6 separate regions of the Homo sapiens genome follow, and all the other regions are linked to region 1. The links are contacts of gene promoters, found by promoter capture Hi-C in blood cells and fetal thymus (Javierre and others, 2016). All regions are on one chromosome and are shown on one strand. Each heading gives the region's core, a stretch centred on a gene start or on the middle of the fragment in contact. The rest is flanking DNA. Distances are from core to core; before and after follow the strand shown.

Evidence for each region. The method cuts DNA at HindIII sites, captures the fragments that hold promoters and counts their contacts. A CHiCAGO score of 5 or more calls a contact.
Region 2: a contact is called between a fragment that was not itself captured here and the fragment with the promoter of CD44 in region 1, in 2 of 17 cell types (non-activated CD4 T cells and naive CD4 T cells). The highest score is 6.1, in non-activated CD4 T cells.
Region 3: a contact is called between a fragment that was not itself captured here and the fragment with the promoter of CD44 in region 1, in 4 of 17 cell types (activated CD4 T cells, naive CD4 T cells, naive CD8 T cells and 1 more). The highest score is 8.8, in activated CD4 T cells.
Region 4: a fragment that was not itself captured here is called in contact with the fragment with the promoter of CD44 in region 1 in 3 of 17 cell types (activated CD4 T cells, naive CD4 T cells and naive CD8 T cells); the score reaches 6.0 in activated CD4 T cells.
Region 5: a contact is called between a fragment that was not itself captured here and the fragment with the promoter of CD44 in region 1, in 2 of 17 cell types (naive CD4 T cells and total CD8 T cells). The highest score is 5.7, in naive CD4 T cells.
Region 6: a contact is called between a fragment that was not itself captured here and the fragment with the promoter of CD44 in region 1, in 2 of 17 cell types (non-activated CD4 T cells and naive CD4 T cells). The highest score is 6.9, in non-activated CD4 T cells.

What each region holds. Positions count from the first base shown.
Region 1 is chr11:35,137,846-35,140,448 of GRCh38, reverse strand. It overlaps CD44 (CD44 molecule (IN blood group)), which reads right to left and starts at 1,278. Exons shown (of 18, transcript NM_000610.4): 1 at 1,079-1,278. The coding sequence starts at 1,145. It overlaps CD44-DT (CD44 divergent transcript), which reads left to right and starts at 2,417. Exons shown (of 3, transcript NR_120528.1): 1 at 2,417-2,603. RefSeq lists enhancers at 1-381, 1,549-2,113 and a silencer at 1,569-1,638. The HindIII fragment of the contact is 6,539 bases long and covers 529-2,603 here.
Region 2 is chr11:35,350,720-35,353,322 of GRCh38, reverse strand. The region is part of intron 1 of SLC1A2 (solute carrier family 1 member 2); the gene reads left to right. Among named protein-coding and RNA genes, the nearest start is that of SLC1A2-AS2, 67 kb to the left of the region's middle. The HindIII fragment of the contact is 2,713 bases long and covers 1-2,603 here.
Region 3 is chr11:34,924,207-34,926,809 of GRCh38, reverse strand. All of the region lies in intron 1 of PDHX (pyruvate dehydrogenase complex component X), which reads right to left. Among named protein-coding and RNA genes, the nearest start is that of PDHX, 8.9 kb to the right of the region's middle. The HindIII fragment of the contact is 513 bases long and covers 1,031-1,543 here.
Region 4 is chr11:34,960,740-34,963,342 of GRCh38, reverse strand. The region is part of intron 5 of PDHX (pyruvate dehydrogenase complex component X); the gene reads right to left. Among named protein-coding and RNA genes, the nearest start is that of MIR1343, 20 kb to the right of the region's middle. The HindIII fragment of the contact is 860 bases long and covers 850-1,709 here.
Region 5 is chr11:34,976,911-34,979,513 of GRCh38, reverse strand. It overlaps PDHX (pyruvate dehydrogenase complex component X), which reads right to left. Exons shown (of 11, transcript NM_003477.3): 8 at 1,332-1,390. Among named protein-coding and RNA genes, the nearest start is that of MIR1343, 36 kb to the right of the region's middle. The HindIII fragment of the contact is 427 bases long and covers 1,086-1,512 here.
Region 6 is chr11:35,279,149-35,281,751 of GRCh38, reverse strand. It overlaps SLC1A2 (solute carrier family 1 member 2), which reads left to right. Exons shown (of 11, transcript NM_004171.4): 9 at 751-885. Among named protein-coding and RNA genes, the nearest start is that of SLC1A2-AS1, 1.4 kb to the left of the region's middle. The HindIII fragment of the contact is 1,574 bases long and covers 540-2,113 here.

The sequences.
Region 1 (2,603 bases), core at 29-2,528:
ATAAATATTTGCTGAGTAGAATTTACTGCATGCAGGCTGAGCTGTCTTAATGACCCAGCTGGCACTTCTTAAAAGAAAGATTAATTTTGGCCAGCGATAAGCAAATCGGCCATGTAATTATCTGTACATACATAGACAAAGAAAGAGAATGCTTGGAGTTGAGCCGTGCTAGAATATACCTTACACGCAGCCCCTCCCCTCCATAGCCACCACAAAGCACTGACCCTGTTTGGATGAGATATTGGAGCCCTAGCTCCAGGGTCCCTGATGTTGCCCTGGTATCAAGGCTCTTCTCTCTGCTCTGAGGCTGCCAGGCAGGGAATATAAGCCACCTTACTGTTGAGATTTCCCCACACTGATTGGCAGAAGCAGGAGGTGGTGAGGACCAAGCAGCTGGTCCAGTGGTTGCCTCTCATATTCATGCTCCCTATCCCAGGCTGGAATCTCATGGAGACCCAAGACCTCACCGCAGAGCTGGTTCAAGCTTCCACAGCGCTAAGGTGGCAGTGACACTGCGGACTGTAAGCTTTGGAACAAGGCTCAGTGGGGAGCTGGGAGAACCCAGGACCCCTTTCTGGAAAACCCATTGCCAGCTAGTCTCACACTTGGAATTGTGATCCCTTCTGTGACCACCTTGATAACAGCCACTCGCCCTGTTCCAGCCCCAGTCTCTGCCCCGCCCAGCTCTGCCCTGCCTAGACACAGCCCGGTGGGGCTTGGCGAGCCCTTGGGCACAGGAGCCTGTTAGTCCAGACAACGACTGTGCGCATCCGGGAGAACGGTTACTTTCTGCCATGTGCTGCAGCTCTAGCGACCTCGCCCAAAACTGCGCGCCGGCAGCCTGCCCAACAAACTTTCTTCTCTTTCTCTTTTTCTTTCAACCAAATGGTGCTTCCACAGACACATTCTCCAACGGTTTAGCGCAAATCCCAGCCCTGCTTTCCGGAGCCCAATGCACTTCGCAGACAGCTCACTTGACTCCAGTCCCCCAGGGCCGACTCAGCCGGAGGGGCTGCCGCCGGGTCCGCGCTGAGCACCCCGCACCCATCTTGCTGCCCAGGCTGCGGCGGGCACTCACCGATCTGCGCCAGGCTCAGCGGCACGAGGCAGAGTCCCCAGGCTGCGTGCCACCAAAACTTGTCCATGGTGTCCGGAGCGAACGGAGGGCGCGGGCGAAAGGAGCTGGAGGATCCCTGGGCGCGGGGCAGGGGCCGGCGGAGGACGGGACGAGGATGGCGGACCGAACCTGGCAGAGGCTGGGGTCCGCTGGGCAATGAGGCTGCCTCGGAAGTTGGCTGCAGTTTTTATTCGAGGTTGAAAACAGTGACCTAAGACGGAGGGAGGGAGCGAGCGAAGGACACACCCAAGCAAGGGGGGCTGTGACTAAGCAGCCCGCAGAGGTTTTAAGAAGTAGCAGCCCTCCCGGGCGGGCCCCTCTGCCCCCGCCCCGTGCTCTGCTGAGGCTGTAAATAATCGGGGCTGCCAGGGACGTGGGTCGGGGAACCTGGAGTGTCGCGGGGTGCCTGTGCCTCCGAGCCCCACTGGCCCCTGCGCCCAGAGACGCACTGGCTTTCTTCTCCCGCTGGCCCCGCGGCGTCAGGACAGAGGATGACCGAACCGTAAAACCTTGCACCATTGGGTTCAGCCTTTGGCCTCTCCTTTCCCGCTAAATTTCTCTGAATCCGGCTGGAGCAAGATCTCTGGGTTTCACAGGATGTTGGATATCCTGGGAGAGGAGCTGGAGAGAGGGCGAGGTCTTGCCCTGGGTGGCGCAGTGCCTCCGTGCCCACAGTGGGGAGTGAGGGGTGGGGAGTTGGTGAATCTTCCAAGTGGAAAGAGGGAGAGCTCATTCTTTTTCCCCTCAATAACAAGTCCACATGGCTTGAATGAATTTTAGCTTCTTGGCAGAACAGCTCAGGGAAAGCTACTGATGGCCTGTCATAGGGCTGGCATTTGGCTCAGCTAACCCATGTGTTCAAGCCAGTGTGAATGGGCACCTCTCTCCACACACATGCTCATTCATCCTCCTAAATATCCTTCCATCCGCCCATCCATCTATCCACCCATCTTTCCTTATGTCCTTCTGGGGCTCTCACATCCATCCATCCTCCTGTCCATCCACTAACCACTTAGGTCCATCTATCATCCCACTCATTCATTCATCCAACCACACACCTTTTAATTTATTCAACCACCTATTCTTCTATTCATCTTCCCATACAACTTCTCATCCATCATTCCACACTTCCTTTTTCACATCTCTTCATAAAACCACAACCATCCACCATCCTCTTCTCCACCCATCCACCCACATATCTGTTTATTGATATATCCACTCATTTCCCATCTGTCCAAGATCAACATATCCACCTATCATTTTATCCATTCTCTCATCCACCCATACGTTCATCTATTATTTTTGCCCCCATTATCCTCCTTTCTGTGTAAACATTAATTCATTTTCTCCCATCTTTCCTACCCAGCAGATCTTAAAGAGAGGAAGAGTTTGTAATATTCTTCAGGGGAAGCCTTTTGAGATTGAAATATCATACTTTGAATGATAACTCTATATCTATCTATAATATACTATGGTTTAATGTTTG
Region 2 (2,603 bases), core at 35-2,534, 210 kb before region 1:
AGGCATTGCTTCTGTGCATTTGTATGAACGGTTAGGGGAGTGGAAACCTTAAGAGCAAAGAGACAAGAAAAGGAGAATGTCATCCCAACCCCATCTGTCTCTATCAGAAGGTTTCTAAACAGCCACATTCACTCCATTCTAAGTCACCCTTAGTTGTAAATTGCACTCACAATGTAATAATAGTTTTTCAAGTAAAAAGAGACATACTATAGTAGATAAATGTTGATATTGACTATAATATGCATCCCAATTTCAGAAATGTTAAATCTTAAAAAAAAAGCCTATCTTAGAAGCAAGGACATAAGATATCAAAATTCAAAGTCGGTCTTGAAATGATTATTGCTATTATTGTCATTGCTTTTATATTGAGGTCTCTGGTTGTCACTGCTGGGACAGTTTTCATTGGCCATCTCTGCTGCCCAGGCACATGCTTCCCCACCACATTGATAGGATCTCTTGCTTCCTGCTCAAACCTCCCCTCTTTTCTCCCCAGCTCCTTAATTCCCAATCCCTTGAGTTCCCATTGATTTCTCGCATGGTGCAGTTTAGCCATGCATGAACTCACTGCCAACCATCTCAACCTAACCCTCTGAAATGTATCCAGTAAGGTGTATTACAAAACAAGGGCAGCTCTCTCAGTGCAGTGAGCATGCCCTGAGACAGCTTGCAATTCTAGACAGGGGTGAGAATATCAGGAGGAGAAATTGTGCCACTCCTTTGCAGAAGGGAACTGGGGCCTTACTGCTTTCTCAAGAGGCAGCATTGGAATGGCTTCTAGAAAGATGGGCTTGGCCTTGGGATGGTGAAAATGCTCTCTGTCTGTGACCTCTGGGGCTCAGCCAAGGCAGGGATGGATAAAGAACTAACCTGCCCTGCCTGCCAGCCAAAAATAGTGCTAACTGCGTCACAGAGCTTTTGGTAATTAAACCTTCCCTCTGCAGAAAGCTGTGGCTTGGACTGATAAGGGACCGTGGATGTGTTAAGGTAATTCACTCCCAACACTGACATTCTTCACTCAACATCAGAAGCAGGCTGGAAAACTAAGTGGAACTAGATGAAGTTTGAGATTCATAACCAGGGCATGGTATGTAAGTAGCAAAAAGACAGAACATGTGCCAACAAAGTTTCTTATAGATTAAGTAGTTCTTTGTTTTTACTCTGAGTCATATGGACTTTTTTCCTTTTTGGTCAGTCAGCTTAGTTAGCAACTTTGTTTCTGATCATAAAAATGCTTCATTTTTGCTGTAGAAAGTTGGAAACATAAAGGAAAGAAGCAATAAGGAAGTAAAAACCCATCCATCATCTTATCATTCACAGATAGCCACTAGGAACCTTTTGTGTCCACTTTTTTCTCGATGCAATGTACAATTTTTATAAAATTATGATCAGGGCCAGATGCGGTGACTCACGCCTGTAATCCCACCAATTTGGGAGAATGAGGTGGGTGGATCATGATGTCAGGAGTTTGAGACCAGCCTGGCCAATATGGTGAAACCCCGTCTCTACTAAAAATACAAAAATTAACAGGGCGTAGTGGCATGCACCTGTAGTCCCAGCTACTCAGGAGATTGAGGCAGGAGAATCGCTTGAGCCTGGGAGGAGAGGGTTGTAGTGAGCCGAGATTGTGCCACTGCACTCTGGCCTGGGCAACAGAGCAAGACTCTGTCTCAAAAAATAAATAAATAAATAAAAATAAAAAATAAAATAATAATCAGAGTATATCTGCAGTTTTCTGTCTTACCTTTTAAATGTACACACAATATACTCCCAATCATACTGTATCTGATGGGGTCATTCAATATTACTTGAAAACCAGACTGTTTTTAGCTTATAAACCTCCTTAGGGCCTGAGCTGAGTGGGGTGAAGTATCTGGGAGAACACACGTCCATGTCAGTAGGAAAGTGCTCTGGTCTGGAGTGTTCTTCAGACAGGATCCATGGTCCCAGGAGAAACTGACATGCTGTCTGGGAAAGCAGAGATGTTCTGGTCATTTTGGGAGGCAGAGAAGGAGTGGGAAGTTCACTGGGGAGAGCATTATGCAGAGAGAAGAGCATGGGCTCGTAAGTAAAGCATTCCTGGCTTGGATTCTGTCTCTGGCACTAATCAGTTGCCTGATCATGGTTAGCCTACCTAATCCTCTAAACCTCAATTTTCTCACTTATAAAGTGGGACTAATGGTATTATGTATTTCACTGGGTTATTGGAGGATAGTACCTGACTCAGAGTAAGTACTCAATGAATGTTAGCCATCATTAGTATATTATTTTTATTAATCTCTCCAACAAGGACTGGGTCAGCTGATTCTATTGGATGAGGATAGTGGGTAGATGGGTTCACTCTTTAAGATAATCTTTAAAAGGAAGTAAAAATATTGGTGGCTTTTAGTATTAATATGTTCTCTCAGAGAGAAGGTGTATTTAAAGTTTAGGGGAGTCAGAAGAATGAAATCTTAAGGCTCCTTCCATTTCATTTTCCAGACCATGAATTGAGGACACTTCAGTGCCTGGTAGGAGATTTGGGTTCAGACCAACAAGCAGCTCCAATCTCAGCCCAGGCATCTTCCTAATCAGGCTTGATGGGCAGCTGCAGCTATAAGTATTTA
Region 3 (2,603 bases), core at 38-2,537, 210 kb after region 1:
ATTCTAGTTTCTTCTTCCCTAAAGTATTTCTTTTATCCTAAGAACAAAATGCTCATACTTCAGCAAACTCAATTATATCAAAGCTTTAAATTGATGATTGATTCATGAATGCTAAAAGGTCTCTAGATTAAAAAAAAAATTTAATACAAGCAAACTCTTAAAATACAAATGCAGAACAAACTGCTTTATGGTTAATATGAAGCAGATTTAAGCTCCATTACTCTGACTAAAGTAATTAAGGGAATTCAGCAGTTTACATATGGTACAGCTTAAACATCATGCTCTAGTTCATTTATAGGCTCTAGTTCATTTATAATCCAAGCATGCAAAAATCATGAAATGAAGATAGACCAAATGAAAAAGTAAATTATCCAGTACTTTCTTAGTGTGGCTCCCTGTCTCTAACATTAATTTGCTTCTTCTCTAATAGGGAGAGAGACTGTTCATTTAATCACTTCTCATTCCAATGTCAGAACACACTAAATAAAACGGAGCCTTCAAAATTGCTGTTCAAATGAAACAATTCTGCCATCTGCAGGCTGGATGAAATAAGGCAGAATAAAGTAAAAGTAATTTAAAAATCAGCACTAGGCACAGAGTAATATTAACACTTGGAATAAAGGCAGTTATAGTATTTTTTGTTTTAAAGGATCGTTTGTCATATAAGTCTTCTTTGTTCAAATAGTTATTTTGGTGTGGTACTGGAGTAAAAATAGACTGAAAATGTCAATGGACCACAACAGAAAATGAATGCACAACAGTTTGTGTGAAAACAGCATTTACAGGTCTTGGCATGCTAACAAACATAAAAAAGATAACCCATAAGCAATATATAGGTTGAGTATGCCTTATCAGAAATGTTTGGGACTATAAGAGTTCTTAATTTCAGATTTTTTCAGATTTTGGAATATTTGCATTCATTATTCTTACTGGTTGAGCATCCCTAATCTCAAAGTCCAAAATCCCAAATGCTACAATGAACATTCCTTTGAGCATCACCTCTGAGCATCATGTCAGTGCTCAAAAAGCTTTGGATGTCAGATTTTCAGATTAGAGATGCTCAAACCTGTATATGGCATCATCCAATTACTACCTGCCCAGCTTGTACACATACAAAGATTGAAATGAAATACTCCAAAATGACAATAGTAGTCATTCTAGCTAGTGATATTACTATAAGGGCTTTTTATTTCTTTTATTTCTGATAACCTACATTTTCATACATGTCTACAATAAATTTATCCAATCTTACTTCCTCTTTCAAACTTAACTAACACTAAGTTTAAAAATGTGCTGTTTGCTTTTGTTAATTTTAAGCAGAAACCCACAAGGACACAGAGAAAAGGAATAACAGCATACAATTTTGGAAGCAGAAAAGTAAATAGATACGTAATAATCAATTAAAGAGACCCTAGAAAGCTGTATCCTAAGCCAGGGAGGATTTGGGTGGCTGCTGTTTGAAAAGTAGCTAGATACCTGGATCCCCTCTCTTAATCCAGTGGTAGGTAACAACCCTACCCTCATTCAACAGAAGACTGAAGCTTGTTTTCTCTGCAGAGGGCAAAAAGAAGAGCTTGAAGTTCAATCTACATAGCTGAGGATATATAAAAACTGCAAAAATAAGTTAAGTGAGAAAGTATCTGATGTGGCTGACATTACAGAAAACTGTGTGGAGAAGCTATTACATACCGTGAGATAAATTAGAAATTATCACAGAAAAAACTAACTAAAAATTTAAAGGGCAGCAATAACTGCAGCAAAAAGAAAGCTAACAAACAAAATATGGGACAATCCTCAATTGTGCATAATATTTGTTTAATGTAAACACTGAATATTTGACCAAGAATTACAAAATAATTTCACTGGGGAGGGAAAACAGAGGGCGGCACTGACCGGCAGTCATCCACAGAAAACGGCTAAAATAGAAACAGAGAGATGGGCAAATGCCAGAAGAAAGTTAAGAGACAAAACTAGTTACTTCTAAGGAAGACTGGGAAAGTTGGGTGAGATGGGGCAGAGATCCACTGTACTGTTACAAGCCTTTCAGTACTATTTAAACTATATGCATGTACTATTGTGCTAAATGAAATATTTTATTATTTAAATATTTAATTTAAAAAAACTCAAGGAGAAGCAGAATACCACAGTGATTTAGAGAATAGGTACTGGAATCAAACTGCCTAGGCTCTAATTTCAGATCCACCACCTACAAGTTATTTATTCTATCTATGTCTGTTTCCTCTTCTCTAAAATGGTGCCATAAATAGATTTTTGTAAAGAAATAAGGTAGGCCGGGAGCAGTGGCTCATGCCTGTAATCCCAGCACTTTGGGAGGCTGAGGCGGGTGGATCACATTAGGTCAGAAGTTCAAGACCAGCCTGGACAACATGGTGAAAGCCCGTCTTTACTAAAAATACAAAAATTAGGCTTGGTGGCACATGCCTATAGTCCCAGCTACTTGGGAGGCCTGAAACCGGGAGGCAGAGGTTGCAGTGAGCCGAGACCGCCCCACTGCACTCCAGTCTGGGCGACAGAGTAAGGCTCCATCTAAAAAAATAGAAAGAAAGAAAGAAGGTAACACATGGGACTTGGCAAAGAATAAG
Region 4 (2,603 bases), core at 30-2,529, 180 kb after region 1:
TACACCACAGCACCCCAACCTGGGTGACAGAGTGAGAGCCTGTCTCTCTCTTAAAGAAAAAAAAATTCAAAACGTTAAAAAATAAAAAAGTGTGCTAAGATATTTTGGGGACAGCTATGCCAAAGCCTGCAATTTTTCAACCATAGCAGAAGACGACATTAGGCTAAAATTTTTTCCAAAGCTCACCTTAATGATAAACTTAAAATGCAGGCATTTTTAGCAGTATAGAAAAGCAAAAATCCTCAATAATATATGCTTTCAGGATCCATTTTTCTCATGAAATCTTTTGTACTAGTTCTTATTTTGAAGACCAAAGGCTGATGCCTTTCTCGTGGAGAGTTAAGGAATAAAGGCAGGGAAGAGAAAAGGGTAACAGGGTAGAAAAGATGGCAATAATACTAAAAGCCTAACTCTTTAATACTGCTTCCTTATGGTATTCAGGAGATAATACCATTTTGTTCTTAAGAAATGTTTCATTAATATTATAACTTTCAACTCAGGTTTAAAAAAAGATATTTGCGCATCATATATGTATTAAGCACACATGGAAAGAAAAGGAAGGAAGAAACCTTTATTTCTTTATTTTACTGCTGTCACACTACTGAACACCATATTACCAAATTTAAGAGGCTTTTCTTAGATCCTACCATCCTTGACTTTTCCCACATTTCCCAGGTATCCTCCAACTCAAGGATTTTAACCTCTAGTTTCCCTATTGATGATCTCAATTATAACTATTGCTTTATTATCTACCAAATCTACCTCTCTAATCCCCAACTATCTCCTGAGATACATCTTCATCTCATTGATCCCAATACCTACATGGCTTCTAAGTCCTGACAATAAGCTTCAAACATTACTAACTCCACCAAAACAAATGCTTCCCAAATCCATTATTTCTATTTATGGAGACCAAACTATCATCACCTAGACCAGATCCAAATTCATTCCCTTACTTGTTGCTACTCTGGCCTACACTCCACATTTAATCTGCAAAGGCTTCTGGACTTTATCCTTACAATGTTGTCTGTATCAGGGATCTCCCTTTTAGTTCTTCTAACCACATTCAAGTATTCATTACCTCTTACATGGATTACTTTAGGAGCCTATTAATTTATCTCCTTATCTCATCTTTTTCTGCTCCAGTTTATCTTACACAAATTTGCAGAACTGATCCCCCTAAGGTGCAGCAATCATTATTTTACATTTCACCAAATCCTCAAAGATTAATGAATTAAATACAGACTCTTATTCCTAATCCTCAGAATTATGAGCAAGGCAAATCTACTTTGTTATAAAAATAGTTGCTTTCTCCCATTTTTACAGAGAGTGCTACTAAGGCACAGACTGGTAGAGACTAACAAGATTAAGATACCAACAGTAGACACAAATCAGGATTGGTGTGGGGAAAAAACTGGGATTAACTGGCAACCAAGGTTCTTAATTTTAATTTTTTACAGCTAAGTGTAACTTTTAAATCCTTTAACTAAAAATCCCATGGTCTGGGATGTTGCCTTTCAGTCAGCTCTCAGGACAGCTGATTTCCAACTCATGCAGTGTGGCACGAACTTCACAGTATGTGTGTGATAGAACCACATACATTCAGTTAACAAATTAGTAAGAGTGTAATACACATAAATGAGGATATCTAAGAATTAAATCTATATACTGCTTTCAATAAAATAAACACCCAACAGTAAGCCAAAGCTTTCATGAAGAGTAAAATAACCCAGTGGAAAAAAGAAAACATTGCCTGGCCCAACACTGCCACTTATAATTTAACAACCATTGCTCTCTCTCGACTTACAAAAATTCTGGCCAATATTATTTTTTATTTCCTATCAATATTAGATAAATATGGAATGAGTACATTGCTTTAAAACATAAACTCAATTTGAAACATTTACTATTACTGCCAATAAAAATGTAGCACATAACACTACTGAAATCTTACATTAGTTCATAAGCCTATTTGATTAATCTTTGTCTACCCTACTAGACTAAGTTTCAACAGAACAGGGGCCATCTGTTTTGAAAGACACAAACATTTAAACTAATGGAAAGACACAAACATTTAAACCAGTGTTGCAGAACAGAAAGACCCATCATGATAAAGATGTCAGTTCTCACAAAGTTAATTTAAAATGTGATACAATCCCATAAAAATACCCCTCACTCCTACCCATGGAGCTAGACGAACTGCTTAAAATTCATTTGGAAGAATAATAAAATAAGAATGAACTAAGAAAACTGATTTAAAAAAAGAGCAAAGCTATTGTTATCAGATTTTAAAGCATACAATAAAACATTTCTAATTAAAAGTGTGGTACTAAAAAAGTATGGTACTAACTCATGGACAGATGGATCAGTGAAATAGAAAAGAAAATCTAAAAAGAGACCAAACTGTATATGGAAATTGCTTTATAACAGCACAAGTGAATAAAATTCAAAGGGATAATGAAAATAATTTTTTAAAAATATATTTCCTTGTTTTAGAAATGTAAATGTTATTGCATGATTTCACATATTTAATACTGTATAAAGTTTCACTGTTCTACGCTCTAATTTTCTGCATTTATTACCACTTCTAAGGATCTTGCTTA
Region 5 (2,603 bases), core at 50-2,549, 160 kb after region 1:
TCAAGAAATAAAAAGTTAATTATAAATGTACTTTAAATACAGTCTGTTAACAAGCAGTGATCCCAGAAAATAGCCTCGTTACAGAAAGGAGGCATGATGAAAAATAGTGCCAGGCAGGAAGGCAGGAAGCCTGGGTTCTAGATTTACAACTCCAGCCAGCTAGGTTTACATCACCTCCACTGAACTGCAGGCTCATATGTTCACCTGCCTTCCTGCCACCTCCACTGGAATATCTGTTAGGCTCCTCAAATGTAACATGTCTAAAACCAAACTCTAGATTCCTTAACCCAAAGCTATACCCCTCCCAGTTTTCCCAATCTTAGTACATGGAAAACTCATTCCTCCCATTGCTTGGGCCAAAATGCTTGTTTCTCTTTCTCACACCCCATATCCAATCCATCAGCAAATCCTGTTGGCTCTACTTTTGAAACATAACACAAATCTCCACTTCACCCTAGCTCCATTTGCTACCACATTTGTCCAAGCCACTGTGATCTTCTAAAGCCTCCCAGGGGAGCTCATCGTCTCCTCCCTTGCCTCTCCACAGGCTACATTCTACACAGCACCCAGGGCAGCCTCTCCTTTTCGTTTCTGAAGTATAAGTCAGATCACATTAGTTATTTGTTCAAAACCCTCCAAAGGCTTCCTTCTCACCCATAATAAAATCCCTAGTCCTCACCATGTCCAACAAGGCCTCATGTACTTGGGTTCCCCTTCATGCTCTCCCACTGTTATTTAAATCTTATCTCCCACCTCTCCATACTAGGCACATTCCACCCTCAGCACCACATCTTTGGTTAATGCGATCCTCTGCTTGCAGCCTTGGTGTTTGCTGGTCCCTCTGTGTGGAATGCACTTTTACCACATACCTATGTGGCTCACTCCCTCTGTTTTCTCAGGCCGTATCTAAATTATCGCCTTGTCAGAGGGGCTTCCCTCGCTTCCCTTTTGAAAAATCACCCCTAGTTACTTTGTCCCCTTATCCTTTCTTTTTCTCCTCAGCACTTTCACCATCTGACATATAATAGTGTTTGTCTCCTCCAACTAGAATGTAAGCCCCAGGGACAGCAGAAATCAAGTAAGCTTTTGTTTACTGCTCTATCTCTAATGCCTAGAATAAATGGTTTTCATCCTGCTCTAATTCATTGTGAGCCCTTTTGATTTACAGTTTCTTCATTTGTAAAATGAGGGAGATCAAACGATAGGATATTTTTAGCAAGACAATTATAAAATTTTTGTGATTTAAAAATAAGAGTTCTATTTGTCATTGTAAAAATTCCACGACATGAAACTACTTAAGAAGACAAAATCATTTGAAGTCTGCTACTTACTTTAAGGGTAACAGCTGCTGCCTTGATGATAAAATCATTTACTGATACTTTAATGTCATCTGAAAGAAAAATAAGGTTAGTAAAATTAGTATTCCTAATATAACTTTAACATTGACCATTACAACTTCAAACTTGTAAATTATGGAATGTACTGACAAACAATGATAAAAAATTACAAGCTTTTGTTTGCTTAGTCAATAAGGTTCCCATGATTAGAAAAACTTGCATTATATGAGGTCCTGGATCAATAATATTAACCATGAATGTAAGTTTACTTCTGGGCCTTGGTTATCAATTTTTTAAATTGCTTAGATATCATACACAAGAACCTGAAGGACCCATTACAAGCATAATCAGAAAAAAAGAACTAACTCCTATGTCTCGAAAAAGACAAATGATCTCTCTGTGGTGTGTGCAGTCAGGAAGTTTACAAGATGATTCATTTTCTTCCTCGTTCTTTTCAAATACCCTTATTCTCTGTATGCTTTATAACATACTGATTATACTAGAACAGTGATACATGTAGGTACTTTATATATAAACAGTTATATATACACATATGGGAAAGTGTTCGAAAATTTCTTTTTACTAATGGGGTGTAGGTGAAAAAAAATTTAACTGCTTTTTAACTTAACAAAACAGGATATAACAAAAGCCAAAGATGAAGCAATGCTGGCATAGGTCCTAGTGTGATTAATAAAATGAGGTTCTCCATCCATAGTTTTATGGTGAATGCATTTGAATCAATTTCTTTCCAGTATACATAATGATTTTAAGATAAAGCTGGGGTCCTCCCACTTCCTACGAGCTGATCATAACTAAAGTATTTGTTTATGTCTTTGCATTTGCCACTGGGTATAACAGTGTTAGAAAATGTAAACAACACTTGATTCTTTCTTGCAAGAGCTTATAGAAAAAGACTCTAAGATCTAGATCTAGTCAGTGGTATGTGGCAAAAAACCTATCCTATTACTAAAGTATCACGGAATTTTAGGTGAATAACAGCTCATTCCAAAGGCATCCTGGAGACTACAGAAAGGGATTAGATGAATTACCATAAACCTAAATACTGTCAAACTGTCACGATAACTGTCAGCTGCAAAGTATCAAAGCTCCTCTAATTCAGAATTCCAGAAATATATAAACATTTTTGCTTAAAACCCCTTTAGGAATAGAAATATAAATGGACTTACAGTGCTTACAAGCTTTTAATGATAACCACATAGAAAGATTTGGTTTGTACAAATTCAAATGTAACAGTTCATGAACTTA
Region 6 (2,603 bases), core at 77-2,576, 140 kb before region 1:
CAGGGCACTTGAACTCCAGATTAACCCTCTCCCAGAGACAAACTTCAAAATGGTGCTGGGTGTGGCCCTGGCATTGCTTGGAAAGAACTGATGAGATGCTTCAGAAAGAAAGCCTTCCTTTCTTTCATTATCATTTCTTGGCATCCCCTTTCTGAATAATGTATTTTCCAGCCCATGGTGAGGCATCCAGGCGCCTGACGCTTAGTGTCATTTGGAATCTGTTGATTTGTTTCCCTGATGTCCAACTCAGTTGGGTCTGGATATTTGCTATTCTGAGTTCTCATGTTAACCTTGGCAATGGCCTTCTTAGACCCTTGCCACATAGTCCAAAAGCCTCTGGTGCTCACAGAGACATAAAAGCGTAAGCAGAAATGAATGCAGTTGTGTTCCCATGGGAGGATTAAGGGTGATTTGTTTTTATCTTTAATATTTCCTTGCCTGCTTTTAGAGCCACGCTTGCCTTATTTGAGCCCTGTGATATATTAGACTAACCGGATAGCATCATGGGAATAAGGCTCCAGTCCATGAATTTATAAGCTTACATCATAGTTGAGCAGTACCCAAATAGGCCTTAATCCTTAATTCCTTGGTCTTAGTACTTTAGATTTCTCTATTCCTTGGTGGAGAGTATGGGGTGGGGGTTGGGGGATGAATTTTATGGCTGCAGGAAAATTAGAGCTTAAAATTGCCAGGGTTGGTTTTGCTAAGATTCTTTCCATTTCCATGACCTGAACTTCTCTGTTCTCATAGCCTCACAGCCACCCTGGCAAGCGTCGGCGCGGCCAGTATCCCCAGTGCCGGGCTGGTCACCATGCTCCTCATTCTGACAGCCGTGGGCCTGCCAACAGAGGACATCAGCCTGCTGGTGGCTGTGGACTGGCTGCTGTAAGTGTCTGTGGATGGGGTTCTGCTGGGACTGTGAGTACTGCCTCCTAGGGATGCACAGGTGGCAAGGTTGCAACCAAGATCTTAGCTAATCCCCATGGCAACTCCCTCACTCTTCCTTCCTCCTTCCCGCTCACATTTACTGAGGACCTATTTGAGAACCAAAGAAGAAAAAGATGAAATATTTGAAGGCGTCACAGTCTAGTGGAGGAATCAGAGAGATTATGACACAAGGTTAAAAGTACAGTAATAAGGAACCAGCTACTGATGCATTCAAAGAATCTCAGAACATTATATTGAATGAATAGAGCCAGAAACAAAGGAGTATGTACTGTATGATTCCATTTATATGAAGCTCTAAGAAAAGACGATGTACCACATATCAATAGAAAGAGATCAGTTGGGGCTGGGTGCGGTGGCTCATGCCTGTAATCCCAGCACTTGTGGAGGCCGAGGCAGGTGGATCATCTGAGGTTAGGAGTTCAAGACCAGCCTGGCCAACATGGTGAGACCCCATCTCTACTAAAAATACAAAAAATTAGCTGGGCGTGGTGGCATGTGCCTATAATCCCAACTACTCAAGAGGCGGAGGCAGGAGAATTGCTTAAACTCGGGAGGCGGAGGTCGCAGTGAGCTGAGACTGTGCCACTGCCCTCTAGCCTAGGGGACAGAGTGCGACTCTGCCTAAGAAAAAAAAAGAAAAAAGAAAGAGATTAGTGGTTTCTTGGGCCAGGTATAGGGGGATAGAGATTAACTGGGAAGGAACACAAGGAAACCTTTGGGAGTGACAGAAATGTTCCATATGCACAGGTATGCACAGGTGTCTACATTTGTCAAAACTCTTCAAAACACACACTTAAAATGGGTACGTTTTGTTGTATGTAAATTATGCTTCAGTAAAGTGATTAAAACACAGCACACACATAAAAGCATAGTGATAGAGAGAGGCCTTCATCCCAGTCAAGAATGGAAGGACAGAGCGGAGAATATCAAGAAACATGAAAGTGGTTACTGAATTTGAGTGTTCACTAGGTTCCAGCTACTAGACTGAGCACTTTACATCTTCCTCTTTAACAACCTTGAAAGTTAAATGTTATTATTCCCACTTTATAGATGAGGACACTGAGGTTTATAGAGGTAAAGAGACTTAGAAATGGACAGATATTCGACCCTAGGTCAGGCTGCCTCTGGAGCCTGACAAATTCTTGTTTATGGTCACATTCAAGCTTCTAAAGGCAGTGGTAGCTGAGCTGAATCATAACCAATAGGTAAAAGTTTCTCAGGTGTATGTAGGGAGACGGGGAGACAGGACATTCCAGTCAAGGCCAGCCTGCACAAAGGCACTGAGGCTACCAGCAGTGTGAGGATGTACAAGTGGTCTGGTACTCTTGGAGGCAGGGCGTGGTGAAAGGTGAGCAAGACGGACATCCTCAAAGGCCATGCAGAGAAACTTGAACTTGACCATGTATGGTAGTTCAGCTACCTTTCCCAGTGAAGGACATTTTCCTCATGTAGAATACTCACTGCCCATTCACAAAGGTGGGAAAGTCTAACCAGATGGTCTTCGACAAGGGGGTTGGAATGGATCCCCTCTAAGTGCCCACTTGGGCTTGGATGTTCTGTGAGATGTAATCTGATGCCTCCTGTCCAGCACTGGAGTTAAATGATAGGGCCTCCGGCAATGCCAGTCTTCAATGTCAGAGGCACAGAGTGACAAG